Linked DNA regions of Homo sapiens: region 1 is linked to region 2. Evidence: promoter capture Hi-C in human tissues and cell types (Jung and others, 2019). All regions are on one chromosome and are shown on one strand. The core of a region is centred on a gene start or on the middle of the fragment in contact, and the rest is flanking DNA. Distances in the headings are between cores, read along the strand shown. Region 1 has its middle 8.4 kb from the start of ZNF595. Region 2 holds the start of ZNF732 (zinc finger protein 732).

Region 1 (3,104 bases), core at 179-2,678, 260 kb before region 2:
ATGCTTTAAATTATTCTGTAATAATGCATTCCTGAGGATATCCAAATTTTCACAGAACAGTTTTAATGAAATGGAAGCACATACTGGAATCATTTTAGTTAGGGATGATTTGTATCAGACTAAAACACTCTGACCTTTTGGTTTCACATACTAATTGAAAACTCTTTAGGATGAATGTTGAAATAGGGAAGAGAGACTTACAGGCTCAGAAAGCTAGGGAAGTGAAAATAATTGTAAAACAGCTCTAACATTTTTAAATGTAGCAGCTGCTGTTGTGAACTTCATTCTGCCTTTTCTTTCTAATTCTCTGGGTCCAGATCTGTTTACACCACCTCCTGGTACAACACCCCTAAGAGCTGACTTTGGCAGTTGTGTATCTCTGTTACTGGGGCTTGAATTAAACATCTTAGTGAACAAACTTTAGCTTTACTCTTCAATACTGAAAAAAAAAATGTTATGCCCATGGTTAAACCAGTATCCTACTCAATCCTTCTGTGATGTTACTCACAAAATGAATTGCATAAAATCGGATACCTGAGATTGTTTTGGCTGGGAGGATCCTTGAATTATAAAGATTAAATTAGATTAATCAGGAATGACCTCTGTTACTCCTCATGGGGACATTCAACTTCTGACTGAACTTTTTTTTTCCTTTAAAATTGGGGTAATAGCCCATATCCTCCACATCTCAGAAGGTTCATTTTTATTGGTCCAAAGGAAGTATATGAAAACACTTCCAAAAAAAGTGTAGGTGTTATCAGTATATCATACCATGTGAGAGAAGGTGTAAAGCAACAAAAGGAGTTTTGTTTTGTTTTGTTTTGTTTTGTTTTGTTTTGTTTTGTTTTTGAGATGGAGTTTCACTCTTGTTGCCCAGGCTGGAGTGCAATGGCGCCATCTCAGCTCACTGCAACCTCTGCCTCCCAGGTTCAAGCGATTCTCCTGCTTCAGCCTCCCAAGCAGCTGGGATTACAGGCATGCACCACCATGACCAGCCAATTTTGTGTTGTTAGTAGAGATGGGGTTTCTCCATGTTGGTCAGGTTGGTCTCGAACGCCCGACCTCAGGTGATCCGCCTGCCTTGGCTTCCCAAAGTGCTGGGATTACAGGCGTGAGCCACTGCGCCTGGACAGGAGTTTGGTTTTTAAAAATTTAACACAAGAACATGTATATGCATTTGAATGTACACCAGCCTTTAAAGCAGTCACCATTGGAAGCCATATATACCAAATATCATGAGGGAGAAACTGGAACAAAAAGATGAGTTGGCTATAACTTACGGAAAAGTGAAGAAAATTTCAAAAACCTCTTTATGTGAATGCTCAACTATATTTAAAACACATCAATTCTATGAGGTAGGTATTAACCCTTTCTTACAGAAGAAGGAACTGAACCCCATCAAGGCTACACATAATAAGTGGCAGAGGTGAAATTTGAACCCAGATCTACCAACTCCAAGTTTCTTTTCAATTTGACTATAACTGCATTTGTGATTGCTTGTGACATAAGACATACGAGAGAGTAGATTTGAATTATGTATAAGCAGCTGAGAAAAATGCAATTGAGGGACTTTTCTGAATTGAGAAAAGGATGACATTCTTTGGAGAGCAGACTTTCTACCCTCGCCATCTATCATTGAATGTTATATTCATTGCTGCCACTAGTTAAATATTAGCTAGACATTGACTGGTAGTTACAATCAATGACACAGTCACTGGCCTAATTACTTTGGTGATTTTTATACCATGGTGTCTGACATTCCCAGGTGTTTTGTATAAGGCACACGTATTTCAAGAGCTCTTCAGCCAGGCCTAATCTCTATGCTGATGCCTCAGTCTTGCTTGCTGTTGGAAAGCTTGGCATATTCTCCAGACATAGTCAGAGGACTATATTTCAAAGCTATGTGTGGGTGCACTGAATTCTATGCCTCAGATGATTCCACTGTGGAAAATGATGTGGAAACCCAGTTGAAACGCTCTCACTTCAGTTAACTTTTATATCACAAATCTTAAGTCTGGAAAAGGAAAACAAACTCTTGTGTCCATACTTATTCTTTCTTAAGACGTGAAAACAATAGTACATTTTAACATGGCTGAAGAAAAATTAATTTATGTGACTGTTTATAGAATATAATATAGTTTTATAAGATAAAAATTAAGGACAATATTTTACTTTTTTTTTTTTTTGAGACAAAGTTTTGTTCTTGTTGCCCAGGCTGGAATGCAATGGCATGATCTCAGCTCACTGCAACCTCTGCCTCCCAGGTTTAAGCAATTCTCCTGCCTCAGCCTCCCAAGTAGCTGGGATTACCAGAGTACACCACCAGGCCCGGCTAATTTTGTACTTCTTTAGTAGAGACAGGGTTTCACCATGTTGGTCAGGCTGGTCTTGAATCCCTGAACTCAAGTGATCCACCCCTGCACACTCGGCCTCCCAAAATGCTGGAATATTTTACTTTTGTATACATCTAAAAAGTAATTATTAATTTTGAAGATTGAGTCTTCTAAGTTAAAATAGACAGTTGTAACTCATAGACAGAACGTTCACAACTCACAGATACCTAAATAGTGCAGTTTTTGCTTTTAGTTCTGAAATGAAGATTGTCATGAAGCAGCTTATCACTCTCTGTGCCTTCACCATTCTCCTGGGTTATGATTTGGTGAAAAGGCTGCGGGAAAAAATGTGGAACATGTTCAACAGATAGGGAGAAGTGAGAAAGCCGATGGTACCTACAGAAATGAAATCCTTGGCTGGGAGTGGTGGCTCACGCCTGTAATCCCAACACTTTGGGAGGCCGAGGCAGGTGGATCACCTGAGGTCAGGAGTTTGAGACTAGTGTGGCCAACATGGTGAAACCCCTTCTCTACTAAAAATACCAAAAATTAGCCGGGTGTAGTGGCGGACACCTGTAATCCCAGCTACTCAGGAGGCTGAGACAGGAGAATCACTTGAACCTGGGAGGGAGAGGTTGCAGTGAGCTGAGATTGCGCCATTACACTCTGGCCTGGGCAACAAGAGTGAAACTCTGTCTCAAAAAAAAAAAAAAAAAAAAGAAATCCTCTCCAATCAACAAATTAGGTGACTGAATTCTTTCACAATTCTTG
Region 2 (2,898 bases), core at 293-2,792:
TGCTACAAGTGCAGGTCTAGGCAGGGTTACCATCTGACTGATTCATGTGTCCATAAAGGCAGAGGAGATTAGGATCAGGTGGTCCAGAAGCCTGGGTGGGGGAAGGAAACAGGTTCCTGCTATAGATCCAGTGTCTGGGGTTGAAATGAGCCAGGAGTCTTCCTGGCACTGTGTGTGTTATTGGCAGAATACCCTAGGAGCAAAGCTGTCACGGGCACAATTCCTGAGGGTAGAACCCTGTCCTGGGAGGAGTGTGGCAATGCGAATGGCCAGTGAGCGTCCTCGGGAGTGGGTTAGCATTAAGTGGGGGCTGGCAGCAGGGTGCAGGGAAGGGATGTTTCTCAGAACTCCTTTCCTCTAAGTTCCCAGTCCCTTCTCTCCCCGGAAGGAGACCTGGAGGAAAAGGACAGTGCCCAGCGGGACAGCACATGTGCAGAACCCGGCCGCGCCTCCCGCAGACACCAGGCATCTTTCTCCAGCCCAGGCTCAGCCATGTCTTTCTTCTGACAGAAAACGTGCGGAGTTTGCTCAACATCAGTCAATGCTCCAACCCCAACGCGGTGTCCAGCAACTCACTAACGACACCACCCAGAGTCAGCGAAGACCCCACAAGCTCAGCGCTCTTCCCGCAGCTGCCCCCCCCCTGCAGACGGCAGTCCCTGCCTCTGGACACCCGTCTTCATTTCTGAACGCCTGCCTACAAACCAGGGGCGCCCACACCCTCCTCAAGTTCAATAATGTGGCAGAACTACTCACAGAACTCAGCGAAGCGCTGTGCGCGCCCACACCAGCGTATTCTAAAAGATGCCACTCAGGAACAGCCACGCGGAGGAGGCGCACAGGGCAAGGGGACTGGTGGGCAAGTTGGAGCGGGCGGGTGATTTGCTTCGCTTCCTCACACACCTCACAAAAGCTTTTCCTTCAAGACCCGCTGGCAGCCCCCAAACCACAAGCCATGCCCGGGGCTGTCCCATTAATTAGTCCCCATTTGCTCACATGAACTCTATGTTTTGATAGGGCCTCGATCTTATTCCGAACAGGGTAAAGTAGGGACTCGACGACCGGACCACAGCTCCTCCCAGGCGGGCACCTCGCACGCCACGCAGGCGTTTTCCCGATGAGCTCCTCCTCACCCCACAGCCCAGGGAAGGTGCGGGGCTGCGGGCGCAGAGCTGCACAAGTAGGGCTGCAGGCTGGGCCAAAGCCGCCTTGCGGGGACCGACATGAACCCGGGTCCCTCACCGGAAGGGACCAAGGACTGAGGGCTGAGCGGCGGCAGCGGAGACTCCGTTCGCAGACTCCGTCCCGCCGCCGCCATTTCCCGCCGGTTCGGATGAGGCCTCCCCAGCCTTGGGACGCCCTGCCCCCACACTCACCATTTCCCCACTTCAGGGGTGTAGCGGAGTCTCAGCTACGAATCATCCAATACCCGCAGGTCACAGAGCGACGGAGGCTGAGGCTGTGACCGAATCACCGACGCCTCCCTGAGGGGTGAAAGCACGGCCGTGGAGACCCTAACCGAGCTCACGCTGGCGCAAAAGGCAAAAGCCGCGCCAGATCCCGGATGCCGCCCCCTCCTCTCCGGCTGCGCGCCTGATTGGGCAGTTCTCAATCCAGCGCTCTGATTGGATAAGATACCAAGCTCCCCACGCTCAGAATTTGAGTGACAGAACTTGCCACCACACAGTGCACTTAATGAGGCAAGAGAGACAGACTCGTGCCTCCAGGTATTTTCAGTCAGGGCTTTCTGTGCTAGGCTTGGCTCTGTTGGGGGTTCATTTTTAACCTTCTGGTGTGTAAGGTTACGCCCATTTATAAATTGTGTACGTACGCGCGCGCACACACACAGACACACACTTGTTCACAAATGGAAACAATATAATGACAATTATTTTAATATTTTAGATTTCATAACCTCTCTGTCCTCTGGTCTTTTGAGTAGGATTTTAAGGGGGAAGCAATCCTTTAAAAAATAAAATGTTAGCTATTTGTGAATTTTCAATTTTTTATTAGCCACATCAAAAATAATAAAAAGAAACAAGTGAAATTGTTTATATTTTAACCTATTGTATCCAAAATATTGTTTCAATATGTGATCAATATATAATTAGAAATAAAGTATATTTCTGATTTAATTCGTCTAAACTCACTGTGTATTTTATGTTTGCAGCACATTTTACCTCAAACCAGCCACATTCCAGGTACTCAGTAGCTACATATGTCTGGTGGCTGCCACATCGAGTACAGCCATGAGGGCTCTGACCTCAAGAAAGTGAGGGCCTGAACACGTCTTTTCTACTGGAAGTAAGGGACCAGCCTCTCTACCAACTTTTCTCCTCAGGATGAAGGATGGGTAGGACAGTGCCCCTAGAGAGAGCAGGGGCTGCAAGCTGAGAGTGTCCACGTGAAGATCACTGTCTCCCCCTTGCTGTTTGGTACCAGTGTGGTGGTCTCCTCAGTTCAACCACGTCTGGGCTCTCTTCCCATGACCAGGAAGAATAAGACATACAGACACCAGAGAGTGAGTAAAGCAGAATAGGATTTATTAAGCATAGGGAAAGCTCTCAGCAGTAAGAGGGGACATGAAAGCAGGGTGCCAGAAATGGGGCTGAGTTTATATGGCAAGAACAAGGAAGTCTTCTGTGGGCTCTGCCCAAATGGGAGGGGTAAAGTTCCCCTATAACAGTGTTGCATCTGAGCATGCCTGGGATTGACCACAGTGACTCCGTCTTGGTTATTACCCATGAGTGCCCAAGCGAAACCCACAGCAGGTGGAAAGGGTGAAGCTAAAACCAAAATACTTATGTCATGTTAGGTAACATTATAAGGAGCTGGGTCAAGTTAATGACATTTAGGTTGATTTATTACACCTGGGCCTAAGTGGGGACAGTCCCTTCT

What was found. The method cuts DNA at HindIII sites, captures the fragments that hold promoters and counts their contacts. A contact is called where the count stands out against the background at its distance.
Region 1: a contact is called between a fragment that was not itself captured here and the fragment with the promoter of ZNF732 in region 2, in 2 of the 25 tissues and cell types used here (dorsolateral prefrontal cortex and mesendoderm cells).

Annotation. Positions count from the first base shown.
Region 1 is chr4:43,354-46,457 of GRCh38, forward strand. No RefSeq gene overlaps it. Among named protein-coding and RNA genes, the nearest start is that of ZNF595, 8.4 kb to the right of the region's middle. The HindIII fragment of the contact is 4,756 bases long and covers 1-3,104 here.
Region 2 is chr4:303,932-306,829 of GRCh38, forward strand. ZNF732 (zinc finger protein 732) reads right to left here and starts at 1,543. Exons shown (of 4, transcript NM_001137608.3): 1 at 1,377-1,543. The coding sequence starts at 1,379. The HindIII fragment of the contact is 17,523 bases long and covers 1-2,898 here.